Linked DNA regions of Homo sapiens: region 1 is linked to region 2. Evidence: promoter capture Hi-C in human tissues and cell types (Jung and others, 2019). All regions are on one chromosome and are shown on one strand. The core of a region is centred on a gene start or on the middle of the fragment in contact, and the rest is flanking DNA. Distances in the headings are between cores, read along the strand shown. Region 1 holds the start of ATP1B4 (ATPase Na+/K+ transporting family member beta 4). Region 2 holds the start of RHOXF1 (Rhox homeobox family member 1).

Region 1 (6,276 bases), core at 3,507-6,006, 250 kb before region 2:
ACCACACCAAAAGCAAAGGACACCAGACTTTGGCATTGGGACTATTGGGACTTACTCCAACTCTGACCTGTTCGGGCCAGAAACATCCTTCTCTCTGGATCCCACAGGTATTCACTCATGATCTGCAATTTCTGCCACCAGGCATTGCCTGTTGGCTGACCTTGACCCTCTTCCTCCTCCTTTTCCTCCTCTTCCTCCTCTTCTTTCTCCTCCTCTTCTTCCTCCTCCTCCGATTTGGGCACCACCGTCACCCGAGCCTCTTCTTCTGCTTCCTCCTCTTCATCTGCTAAGTAGTTCTGGTTCGCTTCATCCGGATCATCCTGGAACAGTGACAAAACACAATACCCTTTTTGAAAAAAAATGTACAATGGTGCATCCCACCAGCCAAAAATAAATCGAAATGACTCAATATTTGGAGATGCTTCAAATTTCCACTTTCCCATAAACATACATGTTGTTACAAGAGGTGGATTTTCTTTCTCCCTAGTTCTTTTGGAGGAAATATCCTTTCTATGACCCATTTTGACTCAGTATTCTTTCCATAGAGGTGCAAGTTTTATTCTCAGCTTCAGGCATTTGGGCTCTTCTCCAAGGACTGCTCATATCACTACTCTGTTCTGGGGCCTTGACCTCCCACTTAACCTTGTCCTATCAGAGTAGAGGTGAGCTCACACAGGAAGAGGATGGAATAGTCTTAGACATTGTGTCTGTGATAGCAAACTTTCAGTCCAAGCCAGCTTTATCCTAACACCCTGTACACATTCAGCTGCTCAACTTCACCATTTCAAGTTGTGTCTAAAAATAGCCTGGGACGGACATCAGGAGGAGAGGCCAACTGCTGTACCCCTCCTCAAAACTTAGCCTTCCTTCCCAACAGAAACAATAGATGGGCAGTTATTAGCTGCTTCTCTGATTATTGCCCTAGTTTGAATCTCTTCCTACCTTAAATTGGTTGGAAAGACCATCTGAGAGCTGGAACCCCGGGCTTCCTTAGTCTCCCCCTATGCTTAGGCAAAAAGCTGGGCACGTAATACATACTCAGCACATATTTGTTGATTGACTGATTGCAGCCATTACTTGAGATTTGAAACTGTAATCTTCTCTGAGTGGTTCTAAGAAAATTAAACTGAAAAAGAGAGAGGGAGAGAGAAACCTAGACTTCACCAAGTGGTGTTTCAAATGCCTCCCAGCCACAGGCCAGAGAGTTGTATCTTTGCTCTTTGGGGGTTTGCCAAGGCTTATTGCAGCAGCAGAAAATGAGGCTGCCCTCCCTTCTCTGCTGTCCAAGTCTGAAGAGTTGCGGGGCTGTGCACCTGTTGGGTTGGATGTGTCAAACACTAGAGACCAGGGGCTCTGTGCTGCCCCCTCCCGGCCTGATTCCTCAAAGGCCATTTAGAGGGCACCCTGCTAAAAATGCTGCCTTTGTTGGGGGGAGGAGGGCTCAGCAAATTGGATTGTTCAGAATCAGTACAAGTGATACAGAATGACAAGGCTCAGCTCTCAGCATTCAGTCTGCACAGCACTATCTAGCTCTTGATTATAAGCCCTCTTGAATTGCTCTCTAATTTGTTCCAATGTACAGCTCTATATAAAATATCACATCAGAACCGACAGAGACCTTCAAGATTTACTTATCCATCTGAGGCCCAGAGATGGGACAGGATCTAGCCAAAACCATGCAGTAAATTCATGATAGAGTTGACGGTCTCGGAACCTATGTCTCTTGATACCCTGGACAATGATGTTTCTCCTCTATCACATTGAGCACAAGTGCCTAGAGGTAGCTTAGTAGATTAATGAAGCACAGTGCCTTAGGTTCTGTGTTCCTAAACGATTTTAGGGCTCAAGCCTGTAATCCCGACACTTTGGGAGGCCAAGAAAGGAGGATCACTTGAACCCAGGAGTTTGATGACAGCCTGAGCAACATAGTGAGACCCTGTCTCTACAAAATTAAAAAAAAATTAACCAGGCATGGTGGCATGCACCTGTAGTCCTAGCTACTCAGGAGGCTGAGGCAGGAGGATCACTTGAGCCTGGGAGGTCAAGGCTGCAGTGAGCTGTGATCATGCCACTGTACTCCAGCCTGGGTGACAGAGTGAGACATTGTCTCAAAAAAACACAAAAAAAGATTTTAGGTGCTTATTATAATCAAGGATGGCTGACTGACATAGGCTCACAGTGTAAGGCTTAGGAAAATAAACTTCATCACTCAATGATGAATGGATTAATACCTGTTCTTAAATATCTTTCACTTGTGTGTGAACCTATGCACACATTTAAACTCCCAAACTACATTTTGAGCACCCAGAGGGAGATTCCATATTTTCTAGCCTCTCGATGGCCCTCCACAGTGTAAAGCTGACAGTTAAGTACCCAGTGGGTCCTAACCAAATATCAGTGATACCTGCCTGACTTAAAATTCCTGATGCAGGACTCTGCGGGAATGCTCTCACAGAGCTTGTCACCCTGACTGAGCTGTCATGTATATCACAGTGGGTAGCAATCATGGCCCCCAGAGAATCTACTGCACCTGAGAATCTCAGTGAATTTGAAGTATAACATTTCATTGAGGAGAAATATATATTCCCTTTATATTTCCTGAACAATTTTCTTTTCTCTCCATGTTACCTATGCCTGCCTTTAACCTTCCACAGAGGAGGCAGCTGGCCTAGGCCTCAGACTGATCTTATTTGTAGATATTGGCTCTCATGATAATCCCATTACAGATGGCTTGTCATTAAAGCTTTACCCTCCTGAGAAGAATTAATCTTCTCACGGCTAATTTGCCCCTACAGCTCTCACACCCGAGAGGCTGTGAGAGGTTCCTGAGCTTTACTTTAGGAACCTCGAATCTTTTCTCCTCTCCTCTGTTTCCAGGTAAAGGAAATGGTCACACTGTGCAAGAGAGGCCTTCCCCAAAAGATCCTCATTAATTAAATCCTGTGTAAAATGTATCTTTGTGAAACTATTTAACAAAATCCAATAGAAAATCCTTTGGTAATGAGAATGCTTATCCCTAAGATTCTGTCTTGTCACTTTCCTAAAGTGGCACTACCCTCATGTGATAGTGTGTGTGAGTGTGCTGGGATATGGTAGTGGGTGTGTGATGGGGTCATCAGGTTTCCCTGAAAGGGAAGAGTCTGAAGAACAGAGGGTAGCTCCATTTTGAGTAATCTAAATATATAAACATATAAACAAATATATAAACAAACAGTATGACCCAAAGGATAAATTTTAAATTTGTGCTCTGCAAAGAAGACAGCAAGGCATGTGTTTATACACCATAAACATTTGAATGGCTGGTTAATTTTAAAAGAGAAATTAGCACAGGATTGCATTAATTTATTTTTAAATTTGGTCAAGTATTATAAAGAGCAAGATCCCCTGATGCATTTAAAATCCAAGCCACTTAACAAATAACTGAAATTATACACAACATTTTAACAAGATTACATAGAAAAGAAGGCAAGTAAGAAATAGTTTTATACCCCTGCAGATTGTAACTGTTTTGAGAGCTGGAAGAAACTTTGGGGGAAGTTAAACGGTTCTTCAAATTGTGGCTAAAAAGCTAAGAGAAGCCCTCTGTAGATTGATAGGAGGTTAGAATAATGTGTGTTTTCTTCTGCGGGCTGTTGACAGTCTTCACTTAACTCCCTGGTTACATAAGTGGCCATACCCAAAGAAAAATGGCTTAGGCTTTGTTTCCTCCTGGGGCTGAGATCACAATCCTCTCTGGGGAACATTTCAAAATCCTCTCCCCAAAAAGCACTGCGTGTGGCATACATTAATGACTTATAGCAAAATAAATGCAAATAAACTTTTGGATCAAATAATTTGTAATACACCCTGGAAATAAATGATGAGACAAAAGAATGTATGTGTGTCTACATGTTGGGCAGTGTGGGGTGGCAGTCAGGATGGCAATGGGTAGTGGCAGATCGGGGGTTTGGAAGATGCATTCTGCAAATACAATGGAAAGAGTACAAGATTAGCAGTGAGGATATTGCATTTTCACTTTGGCTCCTCCACTAACTTGCAAGTCACTCCTGTACTCTGAGCCACAGCAGCCTCCTTTAGGTAATGAGGGGTTCTGGAGAGATAATGTCTAGGATTCCTCCCTGCTCCTATTGGGGATTCTATGATTTTAGCTATAGTTTGGAATTTCTACTTTAGAAAGAGAGCAGCTGGACTCTAAGAAGCTACCACCCAAGAGACAGCTGGGTAGGCAGTGCCTTTCATTTCCTCTTCCTCCTTCCTTCCCTCTTGGCTAAATTTCTTGCTATTAGAATTAAACTTTTATACTCCAAAAGGTCTGTGAAAATTCTATACTCCCAGGAAAAGATTTTAGAAGCCACTTATTCTCTGTTATCTTCTCCTTCCCTTATCTTTGTTTCACAGGAAGAGGGGCTTCCTCCTTTTATCCAGCAGTTTAGGGTGCCCGGGGGTGCTGGGAGTCACTGCTCCTTTTTGAAACCCTGGGCTCCCCTAAACTTCGCTGTTTCTGCCCGTCTCAAAGAGAGGCAGCCGTAAACCAAGGTCTACACAGCCCCCAACCCACCCCATTAAAATAAAAGGGGAGGGGGCAGCAAAATATTCTGCTCTCTGGCACTCACGAGTCTGTAGCGATAACTGTAAGGAAAGGATGGAGCCCTTCTGGACCGGAGTTGCCTTCTCATGGCTGTTCAGTGGGCAAAGACGCAGCAGAGGCAGGCAATCGGGTGAGAGTTCTGGAGCTTCTGCTGGTACAGGAGACACTGGTTGCTGGGGACACTTGGCGCCTGGTAAAAGTGAACCCTCCTGGCATGAGCCCTTCCCCAGAATAATCTAACATGTCCCTCTGTCATTGGTTGGCTCCTTCCCTGAATCAAGGGAAAGCCCTTATGGAAAAGCAAGCTCATCATTACAAGGAGGGGGAGATATTCTGGGTCACGAGGATGAGCAACTCACCCTCCCGCCCCCTTTATATGTCTTTCCACCCCTTGTCTTTCTCCAGCGCTTGAGATATGATGGCCCCAATGGAAATCTTAAGTCATGTTCTTCTCAATTGAGAGTTGGATATCAGTGCATGCAGGGGGTGGGTGTGGGTGGGAGTTGGGGGTGAGGGGAGATGGCCAAGAATAACTTGCTTTTTTCATAAGGCTGATCTCATGCAAAAGGATCTAGGATGTCAGGAAAGATTCCCTTTGCTCTCTCCCCCCACCCCCACACACACTGTAAGCCACCTACAATATTTCTTATTTGTGTCAATCCATGAGCTTCTTAAAATGTGGATTATTCTTTCTGATTTTAGAAGCCAGGCTCCTACTTCATTCCTCCCTGCCCCAAAGAGGGTCTTGGACATAAGGAAGCCTTTTTCTAGCCCACATGTCAGAGTGGCCCCATCAGTCACTGCCCCTCATACACACACCCCTCCAAATCCTGGCCAAATTTCTGTAGTGGTTGAGATCTATATTTATCCCTTAGCATCAGGGCAGGGAACAAGCCAGAACTTTGCAGTGTCAGTTTCCCAGACATATGTAACTCCTGAAACCAACATGGGATCCAATGAAAGGAAAAATTAGAAGAAACAGTTAAGAATATTGTATAGCATTTTTGGTCTGTTTGGGGTCCACCCTACTGGAGCCTGGGTGGCTAAAAGGCCTGGATGGAGTTTGTGATCCTTCCTTCACAAATCAAACCCCATTATACTCAAGTGGCTGAGAATGTTGCAGATACTGACATTCTGGGCACATTCATTACTGAGAAAAACAGCACAATAGCTTAGAAAGATTTAATCATAACTCCAATTCAAGGCTATTCTGATGAAAATGGCTTCAATTGCAGTTAATTTTAAATAAGAATTCCTTTCACTGTAATGTTACTAATCAGACCTCTTCTTTAACAGTGTCTCTTCCCATATGCTTCTTTGAAGGGAAAAAGGCCACTTACAAAAAAGAGAAACTTATTCTTCTCTTTGAATTTTATTAAAAGCAAAATATATTCTAGGGGATAATCTGGTCTCTGGTCTCAGTAGATGTTGATCTCTATCTTCTACACCTTCTCCAAGCCAGTCTTTTGTGTGATTCCTTACATTAAGTATGAGAATCCCCAGGCCCTTGGAAGCCTTAAAACCAAACAATGGCTAGGCTAACTGGTCTAAGGCTGAAAAGAGAGTACACTCACTTTAAAACATTTCAAAAACTGAGAGTAGGGGGACAAAAGGGAGTTAGGAGTGACATGACCTTAGGTAACAAAATACTCCATTCTCTAGAATCTTCCATTCCTAAGCATTCTGGG
Region 2 (5,754 bases), core at 2,599-5,098:
CTTTTGTTGGAGTCTGGCCCCCTCTCCTTCTCTTAACTAATCAGTTCATGATCAATTTTCAGCCTTGGATCAAATGCTGCATGAGAGACATGTAAGAGTTTTAATCATGGAGTGCAGTAGACTAGCTGGGACGTCTGTGACAGCTTGATTTCTTCCACATCTCAGATTTCCACAGTGTACCCCGGTGTTTTCTCACCTTCAGTCACTCATAGGCATCTTAGGTGAGTGTTGTTGCCCTATGTGGGCACCAGAAAAGCTAGTACTTACTTAAATGTTTTACTTTAAATATAATTTAATTTTTAATTTTTGATTCACTCTTGAAAACCTTAAGTACCTAATGGAACCCTCATCCTAAGCAAAAATAGCCACAAATCACGGCCTGATGTAACAGATTTATGTGAGCAGTGACCCTAGAACCAGACTAGGTATCTGAATCATGGCTTCACTCACTACTTGCTAGCTGGCTAATCTGGTGAGCAGTTTATTCTCATTTTGCCTTGGTTTAATAATTTTTTAAATGGAGATAACAATCATACCTAATTCATAGAGGTGTTTTGAGGATTAATTGAGGTGCTTAATTATACAATTTCACAAATGACCATGCAGCCTCACATTTCCTACTTGACTCACTTTCATATTTTTTTATTCACAAGGGAGAGAGAGTGATTGTTCTCCTCTGGCAGCATGTAATAAAGATAGAGCATCTTCTTGTGAAAACAATACACGTACCATGTTTCTATGTACCTATATGTGCTTCCATCAATAAGCCTATGTTGGTTGCTGCATGTATGAGCCCTGGGCCAGGAAATGTGCCAGGAGAGTGTGTCTTTCACTCAGCAGACAGATTTTCTTCCTTGGCCTAATATATCTTATTCCTAGATACCAGAGCAAATAATAATGTAATAAGCATTACCATGTATTAAGTACCTACTCTGGACCCAACCCAAGAACAAGCAGTATGAAGGTGATAAGCAGGGGCACCATGGTGTAATTCACATTTTCATCATCAGATCACTCTGGCTGCTGGGTGGAGAATGTTTATAGGAGAAAAAAGGTGAAAGCAGGGAGACAGGACACTAATGCAATATCCCAGGTTTAAGATGATAGAGATTATCTTAAGCATGTCAGAGAAAAAAAATTAAAGGTTTGGGAATGTGTTTCTGAGGCGGAGTCAACAGGATTTGCTGATAAATTGACTATTTGGAGTTGAAGAAAAAGAATAAAACAGTCTATATATAACCAAGTACCTCTTTTTTAAAGAATCAAATGAATTATTTTTTCCTTTTTCCTTTCCTCACACCTCCTACTTAGCTCTTTGGGAATGCAATTATAAACTTTACCTTCTCTCCACCAGACACTCCCTACACAGCAAGCTTATCTAACTACATGTTTACTTAGAAGTTACAGAGACCGAACCTTAAAGCAAACCAGGAACCTCCAGAACTCTCTCCTACCAGGAGGCAAATTGAGATTGCCTCAACTTACAACCTAGCTCTGCCCGTGACGGTGCCAGCCAGACCACCTGATAGATAAGACATCCGAAGCAAGTCACATAGACTCTGCACTTCATCGCCCTCTCCCCTGCATGCCATTCACGCCAAGCCCCACTTTCAAAGCTCCTGCCTTCTGCCCCAAAGGCTTTAGTGGCTTCCTCAAGGCAGCCTGTACTACTTCCCCTCAACTAGCTCTGGAATAAAGCCACTTTCTTTCTACCAGACGTCGTTCTTGTTCACTGGACTTTGCAACTGGTGAGCAGTCGGAGCTGTGTTCAGTTACATGTATGCCTTGCCTCATTGAACTCTCATGAAAACCCTATGATCGAGACACTGTTGTTATCTCCATTTTATAGGTGAGGAAGCTGAGAACCAGATAGATTCATCCAGTGTCCTAGGACACACAGTGAGTCATGCTTCGGATCTGTGCTCCTAGCTGATGCCTCCCATTACTGGTAGTCCTTTCCTGCTCCCCACAATGTACATTTATTCATTTCTTTTTCTATTTTCTTATTATCTTTCTATTTTTCTTCTTCTTCCTCTCTCTTCTCTCACTAGGGATAGAACGCAAGGATCTCACTTAGCCCAGTGGATGGCAGTCAATTAATGGAGCGAGTGGCTTAGTCCTTGTCATGCTGCCAAGTGCAAGGGCCTTTCCATGCTCAGAATCACCATGAAGACGAGAGCTATCTCTCTTGGTAGGCTACAGACTCAAAGGGTCTGCATATTTATATATGCTGCCAAAAAAACCTCAAATAACCAATAGATATAAATAGATACAGAAAGTTTTTAAAAGAACATTTAAAAATAAAATTTTTAAAAATATTTTTAAAAAACAAAATAAAGTATATAACATCACTTAAGAGCACACACACAATCTCTAGAAAAATTAAGGATTCATGAGTTGTCCACCCTCAAAAGACATCTCCATGCCCTTCCTCATGACAGACTCTCTTAGCGCTTTCCTTTCTTTCATTTTCATTTTATTTCTTATTTTATTATTTATTTTAAAGAAAAGGGGCCTCTGTCTGTTGCCCAGGCTGGAGTGCTGCCATGTGATTCTAGCTCACCACAGCCTCAAACTCCTGGGTTCAAGTGATCCTCCCATCTCAGCCTCCTGAGTAGCTGGGACTAGTGCAGGAGCCACTGCACCAGGCTCTTCAGGGTTTTTCTTCGTAATTGGGCTTATTGGGGTCAGTGGTAGGAAGGCTGTGTAGTTACAAGGCTCTGTGGAGCAGAAGTGGCCCCACATCCAGTAAGCTGCATATCCTTAAATCCCAAATCTCCATCCCAAGATTGGAGATTTTTGGCAGGTATGCCCTTACTGGTGCTCTTCCTATACCATCCCCGATTTTATTTATTTATTTATTTTTTGCTTGTCCTTATAGCACTCCATTTTGCCATGAGTACAGGTTTCTCTTGCATAGCCAAAGATATTCAGTCTCAGGCTAACAGATTCAGCCTCGTGTTTATTCTGTGTTGACTTTCTCAAAGGGTGCGTTAGATTTCTTGCAGAGCACATCTTACCACCCAGAATGCTCTGCATGCCCATCTCCAAGATCCCGATCCCAGCACTGAAGAGAGCATGGCAGCTCTGCTTTCAGTGCCTTTGCTGGAACTCTGAACAAGCAGCCCCCAGTCAATCATTTCTGCTTAATTAATAGCCCGCGCCCTGTGCATGCTGCCAAATATGGAGGGTCAGGCCATGAGATATTCTCCAAACTTTTACTCAAGGCGTCCTATGGTCACCGTGAGATCTCACCTCCCCTCTGAGCCCCCAAATCAGCTTTCCTCAGGGTAATAACTAGGCCCGAGTAGGGTGTAGTCAGCAAAGCTGCAAGCTGGGGCCCCATGTTGCATACATATATGCCTCCTATTGGCCCTTTTCTTCTCCACACTGCCCCTGTGTTTTGGCCACCCCACTCCACCCTCAACTGCCACCCCCACCCACGACCCATACCACACCCCTCACCCCCACCCACAACCCCTACCCCCACCACGCACCCTCCACCCACACCTCCCATCTCCACCCGCTACCCCCACCCCCACCATGTACCCCCACCGGCAACCCCCACCCCAACCCACAACCCCTACCCTCACCCGCAACCCCCACCCTCACTGTGCACCCCCCACCCTCCACCCACACCCCCATCCCCACCTGCACCCCACCCCACACTCACAACCCCCCACTCCCACCTGCAACACCCCCACTCCCCACCCGCACCCCCCAACTTCCCATCCCCCCACTCCTCTCCATTCCCTCTCTTGCTTGTGCGCATAAGCAAGTCCCACTCATTGCAACTGTAACCAATACCAAGCATGAGAACAGGAACTAGCTCCACCCTCTAACCCCCACTCCAGCTGCAGACGCCACGGAGTTTGTGCAGGGGCGCAGCGCTCCAGCCATGGCGCGTTCGCTCGTCCACGACACCGTGTTCTACTGCCTGAGTGTATACCAGGTAAAAATAAGCCCCACACCTCAGCTGGGGGCAGCATCAAGCGCAGAAGGCCATGTTGGCCAAGGAGCTCCAGGCCTCATGGGTAATATGAACCCTGAGGGCGGTGTGAACCACGAGAACGGCATGAACCGCGATGGCGGCATGATCCCCGAGGGCGGCGGTGGAAACCAGGAGCCTCGGCAGCAGCCGCAGCCCCCGCCGGAGGAGCCGGCCCAGGCGGCCATGGAGGGTCCGCAGCCCGAGAACATGCAGCCACGAACTCGGCGCACGAAGTTCACGCTGTTGCAGGTGGAGGAGCTGGAAAGTGTTTTCCGACACACTCAATACCCTGATGTGCCCACAAGGTAAGTGGCCTGCTCCAGGAGCCACGAGATCTCCAAGTTCGTTTCGAGGCATCTTTTTCTCTCCCTTGCCCCACCCAATCATGAGGAAAAAGCCACTGGGGGTCCTTGCCTGCCTTTGTGCTGGTGTGGAGGGGGATATTTACCTCCTGGGCATCAAGGTAAATGTTTTATTGCAATGTTTATGTGAATGAAACCTGGAAACTAGTCCGTGCCTCCCTTTTATAAAGATGTGGTAAAATACACGGAAATATGAAATTTACCGTCCAAACCACTTTTTAAGTATAGAGTTCAGTTGTGTTAAGTATGTTCACATTGTTGTGCAATAGATCTCTAGAATTCTTCTCATCTTGCCAAGCTAAGTCTCTATACCAGTTAAGCAACTCCCCTTTTCCCCCTTTCCCCAGCCCTTGGCAACCACCATTCTACTATTTTATGTCTCTATGATTTTGACTACTCTAGGTATCTCATGTAAGTAGAATCATACAGTATTTGCATTTTTGTCACTGACTTATTTCACTTAGCATAAGGTCTTCAAGGTTCATCCATATCGCAGCATATATTAGAATTTCCTTCCTTTTTAAGGCTAAATAATATTCCATTTTATAGATACAGGTGCACACCAACAGTACATGGGGGTTCCAGTTTCTCCACATCCTCACCAACACTTGTTATTTTCTGGGGTTTTTTACATAGCCATCCTAATGGGTGTGAGGTGATACTTCATTGTAGTTTCGATTTGCTTTTCCCTAATGATTAGTGATGTTGTGCATCCTTTCATGTGCTTAGTGGCCACTTGTATATCTTCTTTGGAGAAATATCTCTTTAAGTCCTTTACCCATTTTAAAATCTGAGTGGCTTTTTCTTTCTTTCTTTCTTTTTTTTTGGTTATTGGGTTGTAGGAGTTCTTTATACACTCTGGATATTAACCCCTTATCAGATGTGATTTGCAAATATTTCCTTCCATTCTATGAGTTGTCTTTTTACTCTGTTCATTGCATCTTTTGATATACAGAAGTTTTAAATTTTGATATAGTCCAAGTTATGTATTTTTTCTTTTATTACCTGTGATGATGGCCTGTTTTTGTTGTTGTTGTTGTTTTTGTTGAGTGGGGGATCTGTCACCCAAGCAATCCTCCCATCTCAGCCTCCTGAGTTGCTGGGATTATAGGAGTGAGCCACCACACCCAGCTGTGGTCTGTTTTTATAAATAAAATTTTATTGAAATTGGGGTAAGGAGAATGAGGTACTGTCATGCAACTACAGTGCTAGATCCTTCCTTTATTTAAAATTTTGATAATTTGTTCATCATAGTTTTTTTTTGTTTGTTTGGTTGGTTTTTTGTTTTTCTGGTTTTTTTGTTTTGTCTTGAGACAGAGTCTCTCTCTGTGGCCCAGGTTGGAGTGCAGCAGTGCGATTTCAGCTCTCTGCAACATTTGCTTCCTGGGTTCAAGCCATCCT

What was found. The method cuts DNA at HindIII sites, captures the fragments that hold promoters and counts their contacts. A contact is called where the count stands out against the background at its distance.
Region 1: the fragment with the promoter of ATP1B4 here is called in contact with the fragment with the promoter of RHOXF1 in region 2 in 1 of the 25 tissues and cell types used here (stomach).

Annotation. Positions count from the first base shown.
Region 1 is chrX:120,360,569-120,366,844 of GRCh38, reverse strand. It overlaps ATP1B4 (ATPase Na+/K+ transporting family member beta 4), which reads right to left and starts at 4,756. Exons shown (of 8, transcript NM_001142447.3): 1 at 4,614-4,756; 2 at 56-320. The coding sequence starts at 4,676. The HindIII fragment of the contact is 10,002 bases long and covers 1-6,276 here.
Region 2 is chrX:120,114,007-120,119,760 of GRCh38, reverse strand. It overlaps RHOXF1 (Rhox homeobox family member 1), which reads left to right and starts at 3,848. Exons shown (of 3, transcript NM_139282.3): 1 at 3,848-4,296. The coding sequence starts at 3,899. All of the region lies in intron 1 of RHOXF1-AS1 (RHOXF1 antisense RNA 1), which reads right to left. LINC01402 (long intergenic non-protein coding RNA 1402) reads left to right here and starts at 61. Exons shown (of 3, transcript NR_126557.1): 1 at 61-221; 2 at 1,850-1,899; 3 at 2,052-2,119. The HindIII fragment of the contact is 14,045 bases long and covers 410-5,754 here.